Linked DNA regions of Homo sapiens: regions 2 and 3 are each linked to region 1. Evidence: promoter capture Hi-C in human tissues and cell types (Jung and others, 2019). All regions are on one chromosome and are shown on one strand. The core of a region is centred on a gene start or on the middle of the fragment in contact, and the rest is flanking DNA. Distances in the headings are between cores, read along the strand shown. Region 1 holds the start of PCMTD2 (protein-L-isoaspartate (D-aspartate) O-methyltransferase domain containing 2). Region 2 holds the start of NPBWR2 (neuropeptides B and W receptor 2). Region 3 holds the start of SOX18 (SRY-box transcription factor 18).

Region 1 (4,385 bases), core at 959-3,458:
ACCTTTTTCCAGGTACCACCTGCCAGTCATGGCCTCATTTACACTTCACAACATTAAGAAGCAAATTGGAGCTGGCCGGTTAATTTGTTCATGATCACATAGCCAGTTTGTGAGGAGGGGGCTGCATTCAAACCCAGGACTGTATGGCAAAAGGCCTGTGTTTTTAATACCACACCAGTGCAGCTTTTAAAAATACTCAAGACAGCAACGTTCTTTACCACACAACACACCGGTAACCTTTTGACGATGGGGTAACCCTATCTATACCTATTGCCACTGGTAGGATCCATGTGAATAGCTGTGGGGTCTGATATTTATTACCATCTTTGTCTGGTAATCTAACACTCCCTCGCACTGAAAACCATCGATATGATCAGTCATGATGTCACCAAAAACACCGACAACAAAGCTCTTCGCCAAACCAAATCCTATCATTTTCACCCAGATTCTACAATCTGGTCAAATCCAATTTTTCAAAGTAAAAGTGTAGAATCATTTTTAGAACGCTGCACTCGATGATACTGTGCACATTGTCTGCTGTAATTAATCCTTAATATAATTCACTACTCTGTGGTAACTAGCAACAGTCCATAACAACCTGGCTGCTCCTTACAATGCGAACTGCCAGGGCACATGAAGAACACTTGCTGAGTGGCGACAGGCATGGGAAGGTCTCAGAACTGACACCTGAGTTGTGATTGTGGCTGTGTCAACACAAGCATGAAGCTATGGTAGTGGGGTTTTGGGAGGCGACATACGGAAGATCACATTCCAACTTGGATGTCACTTCTTTAGGGTAATATGGACAAAGTAATTCATTGTGGAAGATGAGTGGGGAAAAGGACCCAAAGCCACATCTCCTTTGGGCAGAATGATCAAACAAACACACAAACAGATTTCTCACCTTGAAAACCAGAACTCTTACAAGCAATGCAAAGGGACTTTTTTCAAATACAGATGGTCTCCGACTTCGGATGGTTCGACTTCAGGTTTAACGATGTGTTTACTGGGATGCGACCCCACCGTAAGCCGGGGAGCACCTATACTTGAAAGGCTGTCACATGTACACTATTAATGGGCCTAACAAAAGCCAGACCAGTGGTACATGTTGGAGACAATGCCTACTAAATACACAGAGAAGCTTTCTAACAAATGAAGTTGCAATGAATGAAAGGAGCTCTTGATAAGCCCAGCCAAGTTCCACTGGAGGTACGAGCTGGGGTGGCGCAGGGAGCAAGGCCCTGGATCGGTCACCTCTGAGGTCTCCTCTCATCACCTGAGTGTAGGGCTCTATTTCCCCCAAGCGTGGCCACAACAATTTCTGAGTTGCTTATAGGCACCTCAACTTCACTCATTCTTGAATGACAGTCTATCAAACGCCCAGATAGGAGCTGTTTAGCCATTCCCTTGAGAAGAAAAATGAAAACTATTCTAGTCACACGAGTAAAGAGGGGGTGGATAAAGAGGGCGTGGATATTTAGGTGACTTATTTGAGGTGCAACGCTGGAGCAAACATTCATTTAGGAGACACGTCCCTCTCACAAAAACAAAACAAAGGCCCGAAGCTCAGGCAAGTTCTCCTTCCTCCAACTAACAAAGATCTCTTTCCATGCGTGAATTGAAGTCCCAGTGCTCTGCTCCAATTCTTACTATCTCCAAGGCACGGGGCGGGGGGGCGCAATTATTTTTTTAAAAAATCCTGTCATCTTCTGAAAGGGTCCAAGGCAGACTTTGTTCTAAACCTTAGCTCTTGGCTTGCCTTGGAACTGCAAACGTTTCCCACTTGGGAAGTCAAAGACAAGCTGCAGGTCTGGACTAACCAGACCCAAGAGTGTGAGTGAGCAACGGGCACCGGGAGAGACCGACGGGAAACCGCGAGCGCTCGGAGAGAGAAACGCGGGACGCCCTGGAGGCCGCTGGGGGGAGGTGAGGGTGCCCGAGGTGGGGAGGAGCGACGCCCCCAGAGGAGAGCTCCGGGCGCAGGGGTGCCGGGGGTGGGGAAGGAGGAGGGAAGGGGCCGAGGGGACACACCACCCGCTCGCCGCAGGCCGGACCGAGGGGCGGCGGCGGCGGCGGCGGCTCTACCTCCAGGCTCGGCCGGCCGACGGGTTCGGACCGCCTGGGCTGCCACCTGCAGCTCCTCGGGCGCGTCCCTCGTGTGTCCGCGGCCGAGCAGCGCCGCTCCAACCTCGGCCGCCGTAAACATCCGCCGCCGCCGCCGCCGCCGCCGCCTCTGCGCCTGCGCACAACGGCCTGACTGCGCATGCGCCGCGGGCCTGGCACTTAAAGGGGTGATGGCGGCGCAGGGCGGGCCCCACTCCCCTGGGCTGCCTGCGTCCGCCCGCCCCGCTGAGAGCTCGCTGAGCCCTAGGCCGGGTCCGAGTCTCGCGGGCGCGCCGTCCGCGCAGTGCTCAGCCAGGACGGACCCCGCACGGGCTGCCTCAGAAGCCCTCCCTAAGGGTCACCTGAGACGCCTTTGCTGACCCACGGCTGGGGGCGTTCCGCATCTCCAGGGTGCCCTGCGGCTGCTGACTCGGGGCCGGCGCTGCCCTCGGGCGGCCTCCCAGCACCAAGCACAGCCGCCCTGGGACCCCCGCCCTGCCACGCGGACGGCCACCCGGCCCTGGGGCCCTCCTACCCAGCCGGCTTTGTGAAATCAGCTGTGAAAGGAAGATATCCTGGGCCCCCAAGATCACTAAGGAAAACTCCAGCAGGAAACTGCTTAGGGCAGGCCTGCTTCCCATTCCATTCAAAGTCACTCCTCTGCTCACTTAGATAGATACATATCTGATTTGCCTCCTTTGAAAAGGCAAATGAGAAACTCAAAAGAATTTAACCGTTGGTGTCTCACCTATCTGTGGCCTGGACGCTCCCTCCCCGCTTGGAGTCTTCCTGCCTTTGCTTCAAGTTGTCCCGTCTTTCCAGACCGAACCGATGTGCTTCTTACATGTATCGATGGATGTATCCTGTCTCCCTAAATGTATAAAACCAAGCTGTGCCCCGACCACCTTGGGCACATGTCAGGACTTCCTGAGGCTGTGTCACGGGCGCGTCCTCACCCTTGGCAAAATAAACTTTGTAAATTAACTGAGACCTGTCTCCCATTTTCTGGGTTCACACAGCCCATTGCCCAAACTTCGCGTGGGGCTTTGCAGATAGGCTGTAGCTGCAGAACCCTTTCTTCAAGCACAGCCATGCAAGCCGCCTCATATGTGCAAGTGCCAGCGTCGCTGGGGCGGACGAGTGGGCCTGGGTCTCCGGTTCCCGCCTCCCTCCTAACTCGGCATTCCTCCCCAGACCCTGGAGCTCCACTTAGGAGCAGAGTTTGAAAACCAAAGGCCGGTGCCTTCACCACGTTATGTGGTCCCAGGGAGACCTCACTTCTCTTGTTGATCCATGGTCCTGGATCCACGGACCTGAGGTGGCCCACCACCTCATGACCTTCATGGGGCTCTCAGTGTCCTTCCACCTGAGAGCTTGTGGTTATTTGTGACTGTTTCAAATTACAGAAGCCCTGGAGTCATCCTTGACTCTCTTCCTACTGCCAGGGGACACGTCCTCCATACATCCCTCCTTGCCCTGTCCCAGCTCCCCTCACCTCTCCCCACCCCTCCCACCATTCCCCTGGGCTCTGGCGAGTGGTCCTCCTAAAACAGGTGATCACATCACTGCTGTCTTCAGACACTCCCTTTGTTCCTGGACCCAACTGAGGGTCGGGCTACTACTTCTCCTGGCCCAATAACAAGATGCAAATGAGCTGGAGAGTAAGAGAGGTTTTATTTCTGTAACCGGTTACAAGGAGAAGGCCTGGAAATTATCACCATACCAACTCAAAATTACAAAGTTTTCCAAAGCTCGTATACCTTCTAAGCTGTATGTCTACATGTAAGTGTGCATTCATCTACAGACATAAGTGATTAACTTCTTTTAATCTATGACTAAGGTTGAGTCCTGAAGACCCTCTTCTGGAGCCTCAGTAAGTTTACTTAATCTAAATGGGTCTAGGTGCTGGGGTGATTACCCTTATCTTGTCTCCTGCTAAATCATAATGATATGGGGAATTCCTTTAGACCCCCATAAACTTGTTTGTGGAGGCCTGGGGAGTTTCTTCAGATCCCTAATACAACTTGTTTAATCCTAAAAAGGGTCCTGTTAAGAGTTCCTTCGTTATCTTGTCATGCTTCAAGGCCCAGGAAGAGCCTAGGCAAAACTCTTGGTGGGCTCTTTGTTACATTCCAACCTTTGTATAAGGGCATTGGCTCAATCAGCTTTTAATGTTTAACCTGGCTACTCAGTCCGTGCTGGGACAGCTGTAATGGAGGCCTGCGTTAGTGAGACCCGGCCTGCCACAACTTCAGACTCTTGCTTGGTTTTCCAAGGTGTCT
Region 2 (4,858 bases), core at 1,577-4,076, 150 kb after region 1:
ACAGAGCTGACCACGGCTCCCTCCCTCCCTGGCCTCTCCTCTCTTCACCCAAAGGGCCTCACAGGTTCATTTGAAAAGGCCAATTTATTTCTGAAAATGGAAACCATTTCCACAGAACGATGCTCTCACAAGCTCACAGCTGGCTGGAACAATGCCCAGCCCACGAACAGAGCAAAGGGCCTTTCTGAGCCCTGAGTGCTGGGGGTACAGACGGGGGAGCACCCCCGGCTCAGGCCCTGGTGTTGCAGCGGGCATCGGTGAGGTGCTTCTGGGAGGAGGAAAAGGCCCCTGGGGCTGCTGCTTTTGTGGCCAGGAGGACCTGACACCTCCAGCCGGCCTCCCCGGGGTCCTGAGCTCAGCACCTGGCAGTCTCCCCCATCCCCACTGCCCTCAGGGTCCCCATCCCTTCCATCATGCGCACCCCACCTCCAATGTGACCGGCGGGCGGTGGTGCCAGACCAGCCTTCAGGACAGGCTCAGGAGAGCAGAGCTAGAGTCTGGGAGGGGCTCCGATTCCCAGACTCACCAGATACCGGTGGAGGGAAGAGGACCCAGACTCGTGGTTGGCTTCAGAGGAAGCCAGACACACAGTGGGATCTTTGCATGGGAAGATTCTGTGCTCTGAGGGATGCCTCTGACACTGGGCTCCCCACTACTGAGGCTTAAGGGAAGACCCTCCTGGAACACCCTGCTCTGAAGAAGGTGTGGGTGGCAGTCGGTATCCTGCAGGGCAAAGACCAGCAGGGGTGCCCAGAGCTCAGGCCACACGGGGGTCACTGGGCAGGCTGCCAGCCAGCCCTGGGGGGCAGAGGAAGGCACCGGCACTAGCCTGGGCCCCTCCCAAAATGCATGGAAGGGAGAGGCCCCCAGCAATGCCCCCAGGGAGGCCCAGAGTCAGGCAGTGTGGCCAGCCCCACCCCAGGACAGCAGCTCGGTGACAGCAGGCCCCCAGGGAGGCCCAGAATCAGGCCAGCGTGGCCAGCCCCACCCCAGGACAGCAGCTCGGTGACAGCAGGCCTGGGACATTCTCCCAGTGCCCGGTGCTGAGGCCATGGTCGGCCGCTCCCCAGCCAAGACCAGTGACCGCCTGGCCCAGCCCACACCCTGGTCAATGCCTGGGCCACCACATGCCAGGCCTGGCCTCTCTGTGTCACGCCTCTGGTTTCCAGGAGCTGTGAACTGACCCCTCCCGACCCCACGAACACCCCAAATCACAAAATTCAGCCCCAATGCACCCTCTCCTCACGGCTGCTAATCACCATCCCCTGACCTTGTGGGCGTCAAGCTCCACTTATGTGACAAACTGTGGCTACAAGCCCCACGCTCCCTCGAGACACACCCACAGATCCCCCCCACCGCCATCCCCAAACTGGCTGAAGAGGAGTGTGAGATATCTCAGCAGGGTTCCCTGACCCCGGACTCAACATCCACATGGCACAGCCCATAGAAGGGTAGCTCGGGGCCCACCCACAGTGTACCCTCAGGCTGGCGACATCAGGGTACTCAGGGCGACTGCCCAGGCTCCTGTCCTAACCAATAGACTTGACAGAGCAACTCTCAGGAAAGAAGGCCGACCATGAGTGTGCGGTGACATCCTTGCAACCCCACAGGCAGCGGGCACAGTCTCGATGGGCAGACACATCTCCCCAGACTGAAAACACACAGTGACCAGGCACGGTGGGTCATGGCTATAACCTGAGCACTTTGGGAGGCTGAGGTAGAGGCTGAAGCTCAGGAGATCGAGACCAGCCTGGGCAACATGGTGAAACCCCGTCTCTACAAAAAAAAACACAAAAATTAGCCAGGCATGGTGGCACATGCCTGTAGTCCCAGCTACTTGAGAGGCTGAGGTGGGAGGATCACCTGAGCCCAGGGAGGTCAGGGCTGCAGTGAGCCATGATAGTGCCACTGCACCCCAGCCTGGGTGACAGGGCAAGACCCTGTCTCAAAAAAGAAGAAAGGAAAGAAAACACAGACCCTCTGACCCAACACGTCTCCGCTGAGGAGCGGCTCTGAGACTGGCGACTGCTCGTGTCAGCTGTGGCGTTGCCTGCAAAGCAGGTCCAGATGCGGCCGAGCTGCACACACACGGGTTGGATAAGCCAGGGTGCGTCCAGCAAGGAAGAAAAGCAGGGAGAAGGGAAGGACTTAAAGACCAACCCAGAGCAGAGTGTGATGCTCACCACCTCTGCAGGACGGCGGGAGAGTTACGTGTCAGCGTGAGAACGTCTTCTCTGCAGCCTTTCACAGCTTGCCTAGGCTGAGTTCCTCTTTTAGCAAAAGACAAAAAAAGAAGGTGGGTTGCCTATGGCCAACAAGTTCTGCTTCCACATGAGGGCATACAGACCCCCCAGATGCCCACACTCAGCCAAGGACATGTAGACCCACTCAGATACAACGCAGAGCTCACCCACAGAGACCCCCATACAGGCAGACACAGGCCCACACACGTACATGTCCTAACTGGCACACACACACAGGAACACACCATGTACACACACAGGGTGGGGCAGGAGACCCACCAAGACACCCATGTTCACAGATAAGGGTGCCCAGGCCCACAGTGACTCCCGGACAGAGGCACAGATGCCTTCAGTGCCCTCTGCCCGAAGACCTGGGCACACCCAGAGGCCCCTGCATGGAGTCCCTTCCTGACACACAGGCGCACACGTGCCTCAGCCGCCCACTGAGGAGTCTGCCTGGGTAAGTGAATGCTGAGGAGACCCTGGGACAGCCGACTGCAGGCGCTACTGCAGCTCAGGGGAAGGTGGGGCCTGCCTTCCGGGCTCCACGTCAGCAAGGGGGATCCGCCTCCCTCCCTCACCAGCATCAGCACTGACACCAGGCTGGGAACCTCGCAGCCGGGGCTGAGGCAGCCAGCAGGGCAGGTCTTGAAACTCCTGAAACCTCAGCTGGAGGTCTGTCAGTGAGGACCACACCTCGCCCTCCATCCCTGCGACTGCCTGTACTGGCCAAAACCAGGAACACACCAAGGCTACCAACTTCTGGACTCGAAGCACTGGACAGGTCAGTGGAGAGAAGAGTAGCTGGACCAGCAGGGTCTGCAGCATCTCTCGGGAGGGTGTGAGGGAGGGTGCAGACTCCAAGACCCCTGAGGGAAGGACCTTCAGATTCAAGGGAGCCAGAGATGAGCTTGGGAGGTGTGTTTCCAAAGGGACCGCTTGATTCTACGCAGCCCGTGCATCTGCGGGTTGCTGGGGCAGGGACGGATCCACATCTCTTCCCAGGAGGGTGGCCAGCAGCTGCTCTCTGCGGGAGGAGGGAACTGATCTGCTGAAGTCTCACCAGGAAGAGGCGGGAGGAGGCCCCCACACACCCCACCAGGCTCCCTCTGGCCCCATGTCCTTGACCTGGCAAAGTGGCCGCAGTCTCTGCCAGAGAACCTGGAGTGGCTGTGCCCTAACAGACGGCCGGATCTCAAAGTCTCTGGTTGTTTTTCTTTCCTAGAATCCAGCCCAAGGAGGCCCCCAACCAGATACCCAACTCCAAGGCACCTCCCACCTGCCCAGGGCGCAAATCGTCAACGGTCCCAGCTACAATGCAGGCCGCTGGGCACCCAGAGCCCCTTGACAGCAGGGGCTCCTTCTCCCTCCCCACGATGGGTGCCAACGTCTCTCAGGACAATGGCACTGGCCACAATGCCACCTTCTCCGAGCCACTGCCGTTCCTCTATGTGCTCCTGCCCGCCGTGTACTCCGGGATCTGTGCTGTGGGGCTGACTGGCAACACGGCCGTCATCCTTGTAATCCTAAGGGCGCCCAAGATGAAGACGGTGACCAACGTGTTCATCCTGAACCTGGCCGTCGCCGACGGGCTCTTCACGCTGGTACTGCCCGTCAACATCGCGGAGCACCTGCTGCAGTACTGGCCCTTCGGGGAGCTGCTCTGCAAGCTGGTGCTGGCCGTCGACCACTACAACATCTTCTCCAGCATCTACTTCCTAGCCGTGATGAGCGTGGACCGATACCTGGTGGTGCTGGCCACCGTGAGGTCCCGCCACATGCCCTGGCGCACCTACCGGGGGGCGAAGGTCGCCAGCCTGTGTGTCTGGCTGGGCGTCACGGTCCTGGTTCTGCCCTTCTTCTCTTTCGCTGGCGTCTACAGCAACGAGCTGCAGGTCCCAAGCTGTGGGCTGAGCTTCCCGTGGCCCGAGCAGGTCTGGTTCAAGGCCAGCCGTGTCTACACGTTGGTCCTGGGCTTCGTGCTGCCCGTGTGCACCATCTGTGTGCTCTACACAGACCTCCTGCGCAGGCTGCGGGCCGTGCGGCTCCGCTCTGGAGCCAAGGCTCTAGGCAAGGCCAGGCGGAAGGTGACCGTCCTGGTCCTCGTCGTGCTGGCCGTGTGCCTCCTCTGCTGGACGCCCTTCCACCTGGCCTCTGTCGTGGCCCTGACCACGGACCTGCCCCAGACCCCACTGGTCATCAGTATGTCCTACGTCATCACCAGCCTCAGCTACGCCAACTCGTGCCTGAACCCCTTCCTCTACGCCTTTCTAGATGACAACTTCCGGAAGAACTTCCGCAGCATATTGCGGTGCTGAAGGGCCTGGGCACCATCACCCCCATCATCATGCCCATCATCACCCCCCATCATCATCACGCCCATCATCATCATGCCCACACCCCCATCAGGCCCACCCCCCCCCACCCCCACCACCACCCCCACCATCACCCCCACCACCACCCCCATCATCACGCCCATCATCATGCCCACCCCCATCACATCCACCATCACGCCCACCCCCATCACCCCCACCCCCACCATCACGCCCACCATCACCCCCACCCCCACCCCCACCCCCATCATCACGCCCACCCCCCCCACCACCCCCACCATC
Region 3 (4,360 bases), core at 61-2,560, 210 kb after region 1:
TGCCCCTGTGGGGGTGCTGGCCTCAGGGCAGGAGTGCCCCTGGGGACAGTTCAGGAACAGCCTCTAAGGGGCACTGCAAGGCCCACGTGGGGCCCACCCCATTCATAACACAGGCTGGATGTGGCCTAGCGAGGCTGGCAGGGACAGAGAACCAAGAGCTTCTGGCCACACAGGCTCAGGGTCACAAGACCTGTGGCCTCTACCCATGGGGCTCCCGGCATAGTGTGGCGGGGGGAGCTGGGGAGCCTCCAGGCTATGAGGAGATGTGCCGCGAGGTGGCGAGATTCTGACCCTGCCTGGAGGGCTGCTGGGGACACCCAACCCTTCTCCAGTAGAACCATGCGTGGCAGTGGGAGGGGAGGACCTCCAGAGGGAGACCCTCAGCTCTGGAGCCCAGATCCCCTCCTGATGGAGTAGGAAGGGGACAGTGAAAATTCAGGAAGCTGGACGCTCCTCCGGAACCCGCCCCCGCCCAGGTCAGAGGGTCCAGGGAGGGGCCAGTGGGAAGGACCCAGGTAGGCCCTGCCTCTTGCTGCAGCGGTGGCCTGGGCTGGGCAGGGGAGCCAGCAAGCCACTGAGGGTCCCAGCCCCTTCCCCAAGGGCCCTTGGGGGGCAGGGAGGACGCCACAGCCTCTGCGTCCCTGCTCCCCCTTCTCTTTGTGGGCTCCGTCCAGGGCCTCTGCTCTCTCCCTCCCTGTGTCAGCTTTGCCTTGTGCCAGAGTTGGTTTGGGAGTGAGGACAGAAGACCATCTTGTCCCATAAAGGCACTCAAAGTCCCTGGTGCTGACGGTTACACATGGGTGTAGAGTTTCCAGCATGGGCGCCCCTGGGGACTCAGAGCGCCTCCCCAAAGACGGGGCCTTTTCTGAAGGCGCTGCACTCCAGGAAGGACTTACCGGCTGTTGGGAAGGCAGCCTCCCCAGAACTTGGTGTGAAAAAGGGCCCTCTCCTCCCCATGGAGCCTCCCAGCGGGGGGCGGGGAACGGCAACCAGCGGGACACTGCCGCCCTCCCCCAGTTACTGCCCGGGGGTCCGACTCCGTGGGTGGGTGGCAGCTCGCCTCCGAAAGTCTGGCAGCACCGGCCCTCATCAGCAGCCCTTTCTTTCCCACCCGGGGGGTCTCTCCTTCTGAGAGGTCGCGGGGGAGGTGGGGGGGCTGTGCGCGGGGGAGGCCTCAGCGGAATCCCGCCCGGCCTGAGAAGAAAGGGAGCCCCCGGGGAGGAGGCGGCCCCGACCCGCCCCCGCCCGCCCGCCCCGCCGCCGATTGGCCCTGAGCCGCTATATCTGGGCGCCCGCCCGGCCCGAGGCCACCGCCGTCCCCACCGCCATCCGCCCTCCCGGCCTGGCCTGCCCTTGCGCCCGGCTCCCCAGTGCCCGCCGCCCGCCCGCCGCGCTCCCGCGCTCCGTTCCGCCCAGGCCGCGCCCAGCTGGAATGCAGAGATCGCCGCCCGGCTACGGCGCACAGGACGACCCGCCCGCCCGCCGCGACTGTGCATGGGCCCCGGGACACGGGGCCGCCGCTGACACGCGCGGCCTCGCCGCCGGCCCCGCCGCCCTCGCCGCGCCCGCCGCGCCCGCCTCGCCGCCCAGCCCGCAGCGCAGTCCCCCGCGCAGCCCCGAGCCGGGGCGCTATGGCCTCAGCCCGGCCGGCCGCGGGGAACGCCAGGCGGCAGACGAGTCGCGCATCCGGCGGCCCATGAACGCCTTCATGGTGTGGGCAAAGGACGAGCGCAAGCGGCTGGCTCAGCAGAACCCGGACCTGCACAACGCGGTGCTCAGCAAGATGCTGGGTGAGCGGCGGGAGGGCGGCAGAGAAGGGGGAGAGGGCGGGGGGGGCTCGGGCCGGGGTGGGGCGGGGGGGGCAGGGGTCCCGGGCCGCGGGGTGCGGGGGCTGCGCCAAACCCTCGCGGGGCGTCCCGGGCGCACGGAGGGCTCGGCGCCCACCCGCCCGACGGCGTTCCACTCACTGGCGCCCACGGCCCGCAGGCAAAGCGTGGAAGGAGCTGAACGCGGCGGAGAAGCGGCCCTTCGTGGAGGAAGCCGAACGGCTGCGCGTGCAGCACTTGCGCGACCACCCCAACTACAAGTACCGGCCGCGCCGCAAGAAGCAGGCGCGCAAGGCCCGGCGGCTGGAGCCCGGCCTCCTGCTCCCGGGATTAGCGCCCCCGCAGCCACCGCCCGAGCCTTTCCCCGCGGCGTCTGGCTCGGCTCGCGCCTTCCGCGAGCTGCCCCCGCTGGGCGCCGAGTTCGACGGCCTGGGGCTGCCCACGCCCGAGCGCTCGCCTCTGGACGGCCTGGAGCCCGGCGAGGCTGCCTTCTTCCCACCGCCCGCGGCGCCCGAGGACTGCGCGCTGCGGCCCTTCCGCGCGCCCTACGCGCCCACCGAGTTGTCGCGGGACCCCGGCGGTTGCTACGGGGCTCCCCTGGCGGAGGCGCTCAGGACCGCGCCCCCCGCGGCGCCGCTCGCTGGCCTGTACTACGGCACCCTGGGCACGCCCGGCCCGTACCCCGGCCCGCTGTCGCCGCCGCCCGAGGCCCCGCCGCTGGAGAGCGCCGAGCCGCTGGGGCCCGCCGCCGATCTGTGGGCCGACGTGGACCTCACCGAGTTCGACCAGTACCTCAACTGCAGCCGGACTCGGCCCGACGCCCCCGGGCTCCCGTACCACGTGGCACTGGCCAAACTGGGCCCGCGCGCCATGTCCTGCCCAGAGGAGAGCAGCCTGATCTCCGCGCTGTCGGACGCCAGCAGCGCGGTCTATTACAGCGCGTGCATCTCCGGCTAGGCCGCCGGCGCCGCCCGGGTCCCTGCAGCGCTTCCTCCCGCAGCCCCCGCGACCGATCCGACCGCGTCGCTGCCGCTCTGCTCTCTCATACGCGTGTATGTTTGGTTCCATGTCACAGCCCCCTAGGAGCCAGTGATGCTCGGCCTTGCGCCCGTTCCACCTCCCAGGCCACCCTTCCTGGGCTTCTGGGCCACCTGCCCTCGGGGGGCCCCTGCGAGGGTGCCTGGAGTTCCCACGTGTCCCGGGGCTTTTCCAGGAAGCCCGAGCCCAGGACCTGTTGGCAGAGTTGCCAGGGTTACATTTTTGAAGCACCTGCTCCTTTTCTTGCAGTGTATTTTCTACAACCAGATTGTATTAATATTTTTTACTTTGCCCTTTTAAAAAATATACCTAATACAATATATTTAATTTTTAATTAAACTCTTAAACTTTTCTTCCAAGAAGTTTCAGTGATCAGAAGCGTCACTGTGGCAAAGACTTTTGCAATGTGAGGAATACAGATGTTTGCTTTCTATAAAGGAGGAGCCTGGAGCTGGGTCCCCGGACGGAGAGGCCACAATAAATCCTCGGGCCTTTCCTCTGCACACTGACATCTGTGGTGTTTGCAGGGAGGGAAAAGCAGTTCCCCAAATAGCCCTGGACGCCCCTTCCCTCCGAATCGCCCCCAGGGAGCCTGACTCCTAGCTTGAACCTCATAGCACTCCTTCATCCTTCCGTGACACATCCCAGAGAGCGTGGGTAGCAGGCATGGGTCCACACTCCCCCCCAGCCCTCCACTCCCCTCCTGTCCCACCCCCAGGTTAACTCAAGCCTATCGGAGGTCAGACTATACCAGCAATCCTGTCACACCCCCGCTAGGGTTTCATCGCCCTTGCCTCCACCTTAAAACTTCCATGCCCAAGGACTGCCCAGTACGGCCCCCTTTCCTGAGGGAGGCTGGCAGGTTGGCAGCCCACATGCAGACACAGACTCCAGGGTCTCCGTCAGCTGTTCTAACTCACCCCAGGGAGGACAGCACCATGCTACACCCACAGCGCTCCCCCCACCCGGGTGACCTGTCCAGCTCTGCCCAGAGACAGGTCCGATGGCCAAGGCAGGAGAGCACAGGCTTCACATCCCAAGACCCCCCAACTCTGGAGTCGTATCTCACTAGCCCCCAGGAGGACTGGACACCCTCTTTCTTTTTCTTTCTCTCTCTTTTTTTTTTTTGAGACGGAGTCTCGCTGTGTCACCCAGGCTGGAGTGCAGTGGAGCAATCTCGGTTCACAGCAAGCTCCACCTGCTGGGTTCACACCATTCTGCTCAGCCTCCTGAGTAGCTAGGACTACAGGCGCCCACCACCACACGTGGCTAATTTGTATTTTTAGTAGAGACGGGGTTTCACCGTGTTAGCCAGGATGGTCTCGATCTCCTGACCTCGTGATCCGCCCGCCTCGGCCTCCCAAAGTGCTGGGATTACAGGTGTGAGCCCAGCGCCCGGCCTGGACACCGTCTTTCCATGCTGACCTCTTGGTCCTCTCGACCTCAAACCCACGTGTTCAGGGAAGTTTGGAGTAATCACCCCCAAAAGTGAACAC

The links. Contacts are between HindIII fragments. The study calls those that stand out against the background at their distance.
Region 2: a contact is called between the fragment with the promoter of NPBWR2 here and the fragment with the promoter of PCMTD2 in region 1, in 3 of the 25 tissues and cell types used here (IMR-90 fibroblasts, dorsolateral prefrontal cortex and lymphoblastoid cells).
Region 3: the fragment with the promoter of SOX18 here is called in contact with the fragment with the promoter of PCMTD2 in region 1 in 2 of the 25 tissues and cell types used here (heart left ventricle and mesendoderm cells).

Annotation. Positions count from the first base shown.
Region 1 is chr20:64,253,571-64,257,955 of GRCh38, reverse strand. PCMTD2 (protein-L-isoaspartate (D-aspartate) O-methyltransferase domain containing 2) reads right to left here and starts at 2,208. Exons shown (of 6, transcript NM_018257.3): 1 at 2,086-2,208. The HindIII fragment of the contact is 11,329 bases long and covers 1-4,385 here.
Region 2 is chr20:64,105,533-64,110,390 of GRCh38, reverse strand. It overlaps NPBWR2 (neuropeptides B and W receptor 2), which reads left to right and starts at 2,826. Exons shown (of 2, transcript NM_005286.4): 1 at 2,826-3,027; 2 at 3,469-4,858. The coding sequence starts at 3,560. The coding sequence ends at 4,561. RefSeq lists a silencer at 611-794 and an enhancer at 2,778-3,278. The HindIII fragment of the contact is 24,186 bases long and covers 1-4,858 here.
Region 3 is chr20:64,046,589-64,050,948 of GRCh38, reverse strand. SOX18 (SRY-box transcription factor 18) reads left to right here and starts at 1,310. Exons shown (of 2, transcript NM_018419.3): 1 at 1,310-1,790; 2 at 1,987-3,367. The coding sequence starts at 1,433. The coding sequence ends at 2,783. RefSeq lists promoters at 1,170-1,430, 533-1,430, 325-1,433, an enhancer at 758-1,439 and a silencer at 1,571-1,620. The HindIII fragment of the contact is 20,169 bases long and covers 1-4,360 here.